Linked DNA regions of Homo sapiens: region 1 is linked to region 2. The links are contacts of gene promoters, found by promoter capture Hi-C in blood cells and fetal thymus (Javierre and others, 2016). All regions are on one chromosome and are shown on one strand. The core of a region is centred on a gene start or on the middle of the fragment in contact, and the rest is flanking DNA. Distances in the headings are between cores, read along the strand shown.

The links. The method cuts DNA at HindIII sites, captures the fragments that hold promoters and counts their contacts. A CHiCAGO score of 5 or more calls a contact.
Region 1: a fragment that was not itself captured here is called in contact with the fragment with the promoter of PSMG1 in region 2 in 1 of 17 cell types (total B cells); the score reaches 6.7 in total B cells.

What each region holds. Positions count from the first base shown.
Region 1 is chr21:37,064,722-37,071,123 of GRCh38, reverse strand. PIGP (phosphatidylinositol glycan anchor biosynthesis class P) reads left to right here. Exons shown (of 5, transcript NM_153682.3): 3 at 1,500-1,572; 4 at 3,744-3,862; 5 at 5,412-5,750. The coding sequence ends at 5,542. Among named protein-coding and RNA genes, the nearest start is that of PIGP, 5.1 kb to the left of the region's middle. The HindIII fragment of the contact is 830 bases long and covers 878-1,707 here.
Region 2 is chr21:39,182,171-39,188,029 of GRCh38, reverse strand. PSMG1 (proteasome assembly chaperone 1) reads left to right here and starts at 4,579. Exons shown (of 7, transcript NM_003720.4): 1 at 4,579-4,778. The coding sequence starts at 4,645. BRWD1 (bromodomain and WD repeat domain containing 1) reads left to right here. Exons shown (of 41, transcript NM_033656.4): 41 at 1-2,548. RefSeq lists silencers at 4,404-4,623, 4,824-4,903. The HindIII fragment of the contact is 4,125 bases long and covers 2,767-5,859 here.

The sequences.
Region 1 (6,402 bases), core at 43-2,542, 2.1 Mb after region 2:
GAGTATGTCAAGGATTAGAAGCTATATGAATAAATAAAAGCAATCACTTTAAGGCTTAAATTCTGGCCGGCCTGGTGGCTCACGCCTGTAATCCCGGCACTTTGGGTGGCCGAGGCAGGCAGATCATCTGAGGTCGGGAGTTTGAGACCAGCCAGACCAACATGGAAAAACCCTGTCTCTACTAAAAATACAAAATTAGCCGGGATGGTGGCGCATGCCTGTAACTCCAGCTACTCGGGAGGCTGAGGCAGGAGAATCGCTTGAACCCGGGAGGCGGAGGTTGCCGTGAGCTGAGATTGCACTTTTGCACTCCAGCCTGGGCAACGAGCGAAACTGTCTCAAAACAAAATTAAATTCCATCATACCCACAACCAAAAAGTAATTCAAGTATTTATTGGTGCTTACCATGTGCCAGGCACTGTTACAGGCCAGGAAGGACCAAAACAGCCAAAAATGCCCTGCTTTGAGTCTTCATTCTCATGCCGGGGGGAGATAGTCAATGGGCAAGTTAAATAAGAAAAACGTATATAGTATCAGGTGATAACGTACTATGGGGAGAAATTAAGCAAAGGGAAGGAGGATACGAAGTGGAAGGAGGGCCTTCTAATGTGCTTCTATGTCATCTTTTATTACTCATTCGTGAGCACTTGTAACAATGTAGTGAAAATACCAATTTTCTCTATTCACCACTAGATTTTAAGTTTAGGGAGGGCAGAAGCCATCTCTTTTGGATTCAATATTGTGTCTCACACACCTGACATACAGAATTCTGTAATACATATTTGTTAAGAAAAGAATGCATCATCACTGATGTAGTAGGTAGTTAAAATTTATCTTTGCCGCTTACCTTGGGTAGGTGATGTATCCTTTCTAAGCTTCCATTTCCTCATCATTTAAAATTGCATACTTGCCTTGGAGGATTGTCTTGGAGGATTATCTTAATGCATACAGAATGCTTGGAACTGTGCTTAACCCACAGTGAGTGCTCAGAACTTAGCCATTGTTGTTATCGTGGGATAACAGTAAAGAGTGCCGAGATTTCGGATTGAGGGAAATAACATTGTACTCTGGGAGATAGGGCAGAAGCTCAGTATGTGGTGGATGAGAACTAGGGTAGGTAAATTTCCCTTTGAGCAATTAAATGTCTATAATTACTTCAACCTTGTGGGGATGAAGTATTGAACACTTACTGTACCTAAAGCAAACTGCTAGGTAATAAGGATTACAACAATTGCTAAGCCATGATTTGTATCCTTGAATTGCTTAAAATATAATGTGAGTTAAGATATTAAAAAAAAAGACTAATACAGTAATTATAAGTATTATAAGAATTGTGCAAACGAGCTAGAAGAACTGAAAGGAGGAAAAAATCATTTCTGAGTTAATCAGGGACACTTCAAAAGAGCTTTTCTGTTTTATCTGAATCTTAATAGATTGATAGATTAGATGTATGTCTTACTGACTTCTCTTCCTCTTTTTTTTCTTTTTCTTTTCTACAGTACTTTACCTCGTGTGGGCCTTTATTCCTGAATCTTGGCTAAACTCTTTAGGTTTAACCTATTGGCCTCAAAAGTAAGTTTAATATATTTCTTAAATGAGGATATAATTAATGCTGTTTTGAGGAGTCATATCATTTCTTAAACCTACCCAAATCTTAAATATTTGTTCTCTTAAAATTCATGAATAGCCATATAGAAATTGAAAGCTTTTTAAAGATCGCTATTGATACATCTCTAATTAAAGATGGTAGCATGAACACACATGTTTATCTCCATCCATTTCCTCCAAAAATCTTGTTAAAATGACCCTACAGGAAAAAAAAAAAAAACTGAAGATACAAACCACAGAAACAATAGTATAGCAGAAAAGAGATATCAACCACATTTTGGAAAGTGGATTGTGATAGGTGAGAGGTAACTGCCTTTGTTTCTGTGATTTTCACGTTGCTGAAGTAGGGAAGCCAGCAAGAATATTTGTGCCTTAGAACTCCAGAATAGCTCAGACATTGGGGTACCAGGTAGCTCTTTAATTCTGGGTTGAACTGAAAACATGTTTAAAGACCATATGAAGTCTTCAGCCTTCAAATCTCCCTCAGCCCTCAAAGCTGGGAGGCCTGCCCTGCCCTCCCCTGCAGAAAACAGGAGTTTTACTCTCTGGCAAGGTTAAGTAAGAGTCTCTAGCATGGGGGCCACTAAGTCTGAGTGTGGGAATGCGGCATCTTACTGAAAACAGGGAAGTAAGTGAAAATCTACATGGCTTAATGAGAAGATTTACCTCCTGCTCCATCTTCCCTCTTGGGGCTTCGAGGCTTATATCACCCTACTGCTCACAGAAAAAGATAGATAGTTCTTTCCTGAGGAAGCTGACCAGCCCGAGAGAAAGGATCTATAATTTCTGACATTTAGAGGACCCCAGTGAAGTGGCCAAGTCTCTCAGAGTGAGGCTCACCAGTTGACCATCCCTGCCCACATACACATAGTGCTTCCAACTCACTTGTTAGCACTTCATTTTTAAATATGAATGGACTACTCTAAGTTACCAGACATTAAAAGAAAGCCTCTAGCATGAAATGAAAAAGCAGAAAATTAAAGGGAATTTGAAGGAAATAGAGATAATGCAGGAAACAGAAAAAAAAATTTAAATAACATAAAATTCTCAGAGGTAAGAAACAATTATAACTATGAAACAAGAACAGAATGCTATGCAAACAGGAAATTACTGTATTTGGAAATTGTAAACATGATAACCAAAATTAAAATTTTAATTGAAAGACTGGAAAATAAAACAAAGGTAATCTCTAGAAGTTAGAACAAAAAAAAATGAAAATATAAGAAAGTATAATCGTTAAAAATTCAAACTATTAGAAGTTCCAGAAAGAGAAAATAATAGAGAACAAATCATTTAAAAAAAAAAAAACATCTGGCCAACATCTCAAGACCCCATTTCTACAAAAAAATTAAAAATTAGCCAGGTGTGGTGGTGTGTGCCTATAGTCCCAGCTACTTGCAGGGCTGAAGTGAGCTCAGCAGATTGAGGCTAGTGATCTGTGATCATGCCGTTGCACTCCAGCCTGGGTGACAGAGGGAAATGCTTTCTCAAAAAGAAAAAAAAAACACTCAATGAAAAATAGCACTCCATGTACATAATGATACTGAGAGGCATAATAGAGTCCTATCAGAGAATTTGAGGCTCTGGTATTGGTGGATTCCTGGGAAACCAAGTGAACAGACAAAAAGATGTAATTATTCCAGAAAAAAAAAAGTTGTACAAGAAAATATATAATAATAATGTACTAAGATCCTCAGTTGCAAAATTGTTTATGTAGGTACAATTATTTCTAAAACCTGCTGCTATAATGAGAAATTGCAATGTAAGTATAGAAGAGGATAGGAGGAGGTTAATTCCTTATCTCCATATTAGGAAGCCTAGAGAAAATGTCTGTAATGGAAAAAAATGAGGAAATAGTAATATGAGCATGTTTTGTAGCAATGAGGAGGTAAGTACCAGAAGACAGCTCAAGTGCTCAAAGCATTTCTTTTTGGAGAGTGAGACCCCAGGGTTGGGATGGTGGGATAGAGGACTGCAGTTTTTCACTGTAAGCCTTGTGGAACTATTTGTCTCTTATGTACACATATTACTTTATAAAATTTAAATTTAAAAAACATGTTGGCTTTGTGACCGACTCTTGAGAATTACAACTTTTTTAAAGTGTCTATTATGTACTTTAATATTCTCTTTGGCAGATATTGGGCAGTTGCATTACCTGTCTACCTCCTTATTGCTATAGTAATTGGCTACGTGCTCTTGTTTGGGATTAACATGATGAGTACCTCTCCACTCGACTCCATCCATACAATCACAGGTAACTTTATATAAAAGGAAAGTGCTGGGGCAATGAAAGAGTGGAGTATTAGCACTTTTACCCAGAAAAGCAACAAAGAACAGGCTGCAAAACCCATGTTGGTGGTGCGCGTCTGTAATCCCAGCTACTTGGGAGGCTGAGGCAGGAGAATCACTTGAACCCAGGAGGCAGAGGTTGCAGTGAGCCAAGATCCCACCACTGTACTCCAGCTTGGGTGACAAGAGTGAAACTCCATCCTAAAAGAAAACACACACACACACACACACACACACACACACACACACACACACGGACAGTAAAAAGAAGCTACTAAGAGAAATAAATACAAACTTATATAAAAGGAAATATTTGCATGAAGGAATTAAGTTCTGATGAATACACACTAGCTATATTCATGGAGGAAATAAATTATAATTAATTATAGCACTGGTTAGCAGGTGTATGTTCCCATAAAAACCACAAGTATATGCTATATGTGTCTATAATATGTTCCCATTAACTTTGCCTGAGAGAAGCTTATCCTGAACAGACACCGTTGATCAAGGGATAGTAAATAGTACATGCAGACCTTGTTCAGAAAAAGGACTTTGGGGGTGTGTATCCTCCTCAGGATCATTGTGTACTCCTTATTCCAATTAAGTGGATAAAAGAGCCACAACACGTTCGTCTGGTTTTATTTTTTTAAAGTTCTTTCAAGTCTAAAGATGAAAATAAATCAGACTCCTGAGCTTGCTTAAATTCTAGAAAGTAAAGTATTTTTTAAGTTCCCTGGTATGATTTTTCAACTTTTCAAAACCTTTATATATTAGCCTCTACAATGTATTTTGAAAATCAATTCTATTATTTTTAAGTGTCTTTCTAATACACTGCATTCCATGCATTCTTGATTGGAATTGGCAGCAAATAGGTAATTTGTGCAAAGAGGGGAAATTGTTAAGATTGCATGAATATTTATACCAAATGATTTAATAGTTTTGCCATGTTGATTTAAATACATTTTCAAGGCCTGGATATAATTCTGTTCCCGTGAGAAATGTGCAAATGAGACTTTAATCATCATTGTATGGTTGATTAAAATATTGATTTCTTTCCAAGTTAGAGATGAAAAAAGTACTTTACTGATGTTTTTATTTTTTTATTTTTATTTATTTATTTATTTATTTTTTATTTTTTATTTTTGAGATGGAGTCTCGCTCTGTCACCCAGGCTGGAGTGCAATGGCGCAATCTCGGCTCACTGCAGGCTCCGCCCCCTGGGTTCACGCTGTTCTCCTGCCTCAGCCTCCCGAGTAGGTGGGACTACAGGCGCCCGCCACCTCACCAGGCTAATTTTGTGTGTTTGTGTTTTTAGTAGAGACAGGGATGTTTTTATTTTAATTGGGACATTTCTTCTAAAGAGAGGATTTAAGTAATCATCTAATTATGTTAAACATGATGTTTGTCACTATCCAAACGTCAGCCTAGTAAACTATGTGGTGGGTCTCCATCAGACACAGAGACTGTAGAAGAAATTGCTTAGGTAAACAGAGCTTTTTGGTCTTTTCTTACAGATAACTATGCAAAAAATCAACAGCAGAAGAAATACCAAGAGGAGGCCATTCCAGCCTTAAGAGATATTTCTATTAGTGAAGTAAACCAAATGTTCTTTCTTGCAGCCAAAGAACTTTACACCAAAAACTGAACTGTGTGTAACCATAGTAACACCAAGCACGTATTTATTTATAAGTTTTTGCCATTATAATTTTGACCATAAATTAATTTGACCATCTCTCTTATTAATAGAGAAGTAAAAAATGTAAGTTGACCTTCTCTTAGATTATGTTCAATGAATATTGTAAATGTTCAAGTATTGTTAATGAATAGAATAAATACAATATTGCATTCCCATATAGCAGACTTAAAAAAAAAAATCAATGTCAGTATAATCAAGAAGTTCCTCCAGAGAGGCATTTATATTGTAATTTGCAAAGGGCAATGATGTCCTTCCTCCTGTTTGTCCTGAGGGGCCCAGAATTCAAACCCTTAGTTTTTGGGAAGGGTACAGTTAGTACTTGTGCCATCAGATTCATGTCTAAGACACAAATATTTGTTGAGTACTCACTGTGTACCAGGTATTTTTCTAGGCACTGAGGATGAAGTAATGGTAAGATTCTCTCTCAAAGAGCTTATAGTTTTAGAAGCAGGGTGAGGCAACTAAGCAAATAAACAAGGAAATATAATTTGATGAGTGCTATGCAAAGAATTAAGATAATGTATTCTAGAATGCAAAGGGATGACTAGTTCACATTGGGTGGTCAAGGAAGGCCTCTCAGAGAGAGGCTGTTGGGATCTAAGTATAAAGCAGGTGAGGCAAAGACCATAAGGTGGGAAGGAACTTGGTTTGTCCTAAGAACAGAGAGAAGACTGGCATTGGGCATAGAGCATACCAAACAAGAGAGAATGTGGTCCCAGGTGAGCCTGGAGAGACCGGGCCCAGATTGTGAAGGGCTTTGTAGGCTGGTGTAGGAAGTGTGGATTTAAGTGTAAGTGTGATGAGTTTGA
Region 2 (5,859 bases), core at 3,330-5,829:
TGATTTCAAGCCCCCTCTAAAAACTGCCTTAGTCTGCATGAAGTAGTTAACTCTCCAAAGTGCTTTTTGTCTGGCAAATCCCTTCACAATTTTCACCTCTCGTCTAAAAGCTTCCTTAAAGGAAGCCTTCCTTGATCCCTTAGGCTAGGTTAGGTTTCCAGTCTGTGTTCTCATAGCACTCTGCACTTTTTGGTTCCTTAAAGCAACTCTGTGTTATTTTTTAGAATTTTAATCTGAATCTCGTGTGTCACATACCTAGGTCAGAAAATACTGGAACAATGAAGTTAAGATTTAGTAATTCAAATTATGTAAAATGCTCATATATATGTTTTTAGATTAGCAGCTTTATGATGCCGATGCTGAAGGAACTTTTCACCCCATTCTTACAAGTCTGCTACTGTTTTAAGTGACATCCTTATAGTTGTAGATAAGCAAATGTAAGGTTATATCAATGTGAAGAAGCCCTTAGTATCACATTTTAAAATTTATCATTTAGCAATATGACTTTTAAATTTATTGTTTCCGAATGAGTGTTGTTGAGGAATGTTAGCAGTAGTAAAATCTTGTGTTACAAGATTTTTGCATTTACATGAACTTTCACTCATTTTTCAGAATTTGTTCCTAGAGACAGAGAACCCAATACAAAAGTGAGAACATGTATGCATAATCAGAAGGATGCAGTGCAGATGCCTAGTGAAACTCTGAAAGCAAAAATGGTACCTGAGAAAGTTCCCCGCAGATGTGCTACTGTTGCTGCAAATAAAATAAAGATAATGAGTAATCTAAAAGAAACGATCTCAGGACCAGAAAATGTCTGGATTAGGAAGAGTAGCAGAAAACTGCCCCATCGAAATGCTTCTGCTGCGGCTAAGAAAAAATTACTGAATGTTTATAAAGAGGATGATACAACCATAAATTCTGAAAGTGAAAAAGAGCTAGAAGATATTAATAGAAAAATGCTTTTTTTAAGGGGGTTCAGATCCTGGAAAGAAAATGCACAATAGTGACTATGAGAATGTAGAAGTGGCATCTGAAAACAATTGGTACACAAGTAAACTGGCAGTTACATTCTGCTCCCAGCTCTAAAATTACTCCCTTATTGGCATCTTTGGAGGAATTTTCTAAAAGCCATAATCCAGTGGGTTCCTCCCAGTCAGCTCTTGTACAGACATGTGCTCTGGGGAATTCTGAGGAGGAAATAAATTGCAGAGTCTGTAGGTGGAGAGGTGGAAAGAAAAGACAAATGGCCTGCTATAAGACTACTATTCCTTTCCAGAATGCAAGGCCTTGAAGACATGATTCCTTAGAGGAAGAATATAATGGGAAGTGTACAGGCTAGGAAGAACTTGAAGTGAACAAATTTCAAAATCTTAACCTGATGCTAATTTTCAGGGTTCTCCATTACAGTGTAAAAATTCAGACCACGACAACTATGGTGTCATGAGGAAAAAAAATCAGGCATTTTTCCAAAGGAAGTGCTAATGGGCCTATTTGACTTCTGAGTGAAGCAAAAACTACCCAGATCCATTCCCTACAATTCACATCCCCAAAGGTCAAAAACAAACTAGGAGGACCTGGGAATTTCAGCTGGAGATACTGATTATTGAGTTCTGAAGTAGAGTGTTGGAAATAGGCAATTAGAGAAAGTCCATTGATGTCATTTTGTTTATAATATTGCAGTTCATACTGAATGACCACTTGATATGACTAATTCAGGGAATATATATTTTTCTATGAAAGCTATGAATGTTACTATCACGGCTTTTCCTTATTTTTACTTGTATGTAGCAGCATTTACAGAAATGCCAAAAATGTGCCTCATTAAGAGGCAGGTCTTAATCAGTTAGATAAAAATAAAATGTATAGCTTAAGATCAAAACAGTCATATTTTTAGATACAGTGAAATCTTTTATGTTTCTCTACAGCACCTTAAAAATTAGAACTTGAATACTTTGAGTAAACTTACTACAATCTCATCCCAACAAACTTTAATGGTAGCATGTTTGGCCTATTTCATTGTGGCCTGTACTAGGATTAGAAAATTTGGTCGTGGTATAACAAAGAAGTGTATTTACAATAGGATTTAATTTGTTGTTAATATGTATTTGTTGAAATTAAAATTGCCAGATTAAATGAATATACTGTCGCATCTTTTTAACATAGTAACGTGTTACTGGAAAAATTAAGTTGTTGAAAGTAAGTTGTTTTCCCATTTAAAAATATCTGAATATATGATTTGCATGTGTAAATCTGAAAAACTAAACTACAGAAACCTAGGGTTTTCTATTTCTTTTTTAAGTCAAATGCATTTTTTTTTTTTTGTTATACAGATGAACCAAGTGTCTAAAATACTTGAGAAATTTGTGGTTGCATGTCTGTTTTAAAAAAAAGGCTTTTTGTTTTTTAGCATAAGCCAGAATATTCTAACCTACTAAGTCTGTGTCCTTTGCTCCTTTTGTAGTATACTTTCATCTAAATTACTGATCCCCAATATGTTGATACACAGGTGAGAAAGGGAAGAATTCCTAATAAACTGCTATTACTTTTAGGTGCATGGGGTTTGATTTTTGAGCTCTAATGAAATGCTTAAACTTCTTTCCAGTTCAAATTTTACACTTAATTTATAATATTTATTGAGTATATTATGTCCTCAACAAGTAACTATAAAATGAAATACTTAACTCGGTGAAGACTATTTTATGCAAAGTTTTTTTTTTTTTTTTTTTTTTTTTTTAGCAATTTCAGTGTAATGAAAGAATTTAAGCTTTGAATTTATAATTTGCTGTGGTGGGGTTAATTTCTGTCAGTATTTGAGATTGTATTATCAGTCTTGCATAATGAAATCCTTTTTTGGCTAAGTATTTAATTCGAACATATTTGCCTTTTTAAAAAGTGCTTGGCCTAAACTTATTGTAACTGCATGAAATAAGCATTTGCTTAAAACTTAACATTGTAAAATTGTTCTCTCTGAAATGTGTGCAGAATTTAAATCATGGCCAAATGTATTACTATTACCCTATTTACAGTAATTTGCTTTGCAGAAAATATTTCTTCATCATGGAACTGTGAAATCAAATTGAAGATCTTACTGGTAAAAATGACAAATTAACAAAAGGACTAAGACAAGTGGTGCCCAAACAACCTTTTTATTCTGCAGTTCCATCATCATAATAGACCAGTTAACCCAGGAGTCCTAATGTTTTAAAACATCATTGTGGTGATCTTGTTTATTCTATCTCACTAAGGATATCCAGTTTCCTAAGCTCTTACTGGCTAGCAATTTCGTCTTAATTTTATTGCTAAATGTTCAAATTTTGCTTCCAAACTCACTTTATTTTTGCAGATGTGTACATCTGCTAAGTACTAATTTTATGTAAATGATTTTGTTGATTATCTTTCCACATCTTAAAATGTTTCTAACAGCTTTGAGATTTTATCTCAACAGGCTCTCTCTGACCCCAAAGTAGTACTTACCTTCGTGACTACTGACAAAGTCACAAAATGCAGGCGATGTCATGTATTTCGGTACAACTAAATCTAGGAAACGGTTTTTTCATTGCATTACTGCATATTTTCATTTTCATTTAAATTATGTCCCCTTTTTCTCTTGCTTGAAACAGTGCTCCTCGAACTTTGTCTTCCAGCACATTTTAAAGAGAACCAATTAAAGAACAATCACACATTCTGCTTATTAAAGGCTATTTAAAAAGAAACATTTTGTATTAGAAAATGGCCAACTTTAAAACACTATTTTTTACACTCATAAAAATGTTTTTTAAATCGCCTTGACAATCATCAGCTTTTGAAATGTGAATTCCTATTGCCAGAGTAAAGGTCTCGTTTTTATACCACCACGAAGCGCTGTATTTCTTGCTGCCCTTGCGTCCGCCCGTGCCCGCTGTCTGAGGGCGCGCCTGGCTACGGGGGCCCTCAGTACCACCGCGCCGCCACCTACCTGGGCAGTCGAAATTTGGAGCGGGTGCTCAGTACACTAATGCTACCCCAGTCTCTCCTAACGCAGAAGGAAAATGGAAACGGACGATGAGGGGACGGCCCCACAGCTCCCGGACGCCACGGCCAGCGGCGCTGGCTCCGCCCCTGCACCCCTGGTTCCGCTACCGCCACGAACGGAGGCCCCGCCCTCCTCTCGCCCCCTGCCCCTCTAGCCCGCAGTCCTCCCACCTCCTGGCGCCCGCAGGGCTCAAGCTGCGAATGAAAGCCTTTGGGGGCCGGACGCGGTGGCTGAGGCCTGTAATCCAAGCACTTTGGGAGGTCTAAGGAGGACGATCGCTAGAGTCCTGGAGTTCGAGACCAGTCTGGGCAACATAGCGAGACCCCCTCCCCCAATCTGTAATTTAAAAACAAAAAAGCTGCGGGGACTGCTGGCCCAGGGCATGACAGCGCGGGCGGGCGGTGTAGAGGGCGTGGCCGCGAGCTCAGGGTGTGCCTGGGAGCGAGCCCTGTGCGGGGCGGGACGTAGCGCCCGCGCGGTGGGGGTGTGGCCGCGAGCTTGGGCTGTGCGCGGAGGGCGTGGCCTGTGCGGGGCGGGACTTATTGCCCGCGCGGTGAGGGAGCGTGGTCTCGCGCAAGCCGGCGTGCGGTCCCGCGGCGCTGCAGTTGTGTCCAGCCGGTCACGGGGCGGCTATGGCGGCCACGTTCTTCGGAGAGGTGGTGAAGGCGCCGTGCCGAGCTGGGACTGAGGACGAAGAGGAGGAGGAGGAGGGGCGGAGGGAGACGCCCGAGGACAGGGAGGTGCGTCTGCAGCTGGCGCGGAAGAGGTGAGGCACCGGGATAAGGGCAGCGCGCTCACCGCAGCTGGAAGGTGCGCGGGCCTGGCAGCCGCGACGGCGCCTAAGGCCGGGGCTCCGCGGTCTTCCGAGTGGCCCCCGCGGTTGCCGCCGCTCCTTGGCTCTGCTTGGGCCCTGGGTCTCCGTGAAGCCGCGGCGTCCAGCGGCGCCAGCCCCAGGTGTGTGTGGTTCTCGCGTGGATCTGCTGGCGTTTCGTGGAGTCCAGGGTGAAGCCGCTGTGGGAGGGCTGGGTTCAAATCCGTTCTTTAAAGGCTTTCTGGAGCGTTTCTGGAGCATTTCTGGAGGCTTGGTGTCTTGCGGACTCGTGATCTTCCCGCTTGTCACACTGTCTTGGGCCGCAGCGCTCCCGCGGGCCCCACCACGTTTGTCGTGGATTGTTCACGGACACACCAATTCCCTCGAAACTTTTTAAACCTGCACCCAACACTTCAATTAGCATGATGTGTCAGTAGCCGATGAACACGCTTTAAAAAAATTGTTTCCAAACACAAAAAAGTGGGAGAAAATAGTCAAGTGAGCCCTGACCCCTACACAACCGGGTAAATTCAACAGGAAGATTTTGCCACGTTTATTTTCTCTCCCGCCACTCCTAAGCGAATTCCAGTCATCATGGCCTTTCACCTCTACATTTTTCAGAATACATCTCAAACGTTTTAGGGATTTTCTTACATATGCTATTATCACCCCTAACAACACTAATACTAATTTTCCAGTATCATTTTGTAGTCCATGCTCACTCACGTTTACCTAGTTTTTTCAAACATGACATTTTACAGTGGTCTGCGTGAATGAGAATCCTAACAGGGTCCACAGGTTACATTTAGACGTGTCACTTCATTTAGAGCAACCTCCTCTTACCCCTCCTAAGAGACAGGACTGATTGTCTTGTCCAGTGCCCCCACACTCTGAATTTGTCTGATAGCTTCGTTGTGGTGTCACTTAACGTTTGTATCACCTGCATGTCCTGTAAAATGAATGTTCATTTGGAGGCTTGGTCAGATTCTCATTCAAAGTTTTGTCGGCAAGAATGCTTCTACTAAGTGGTGCTTTC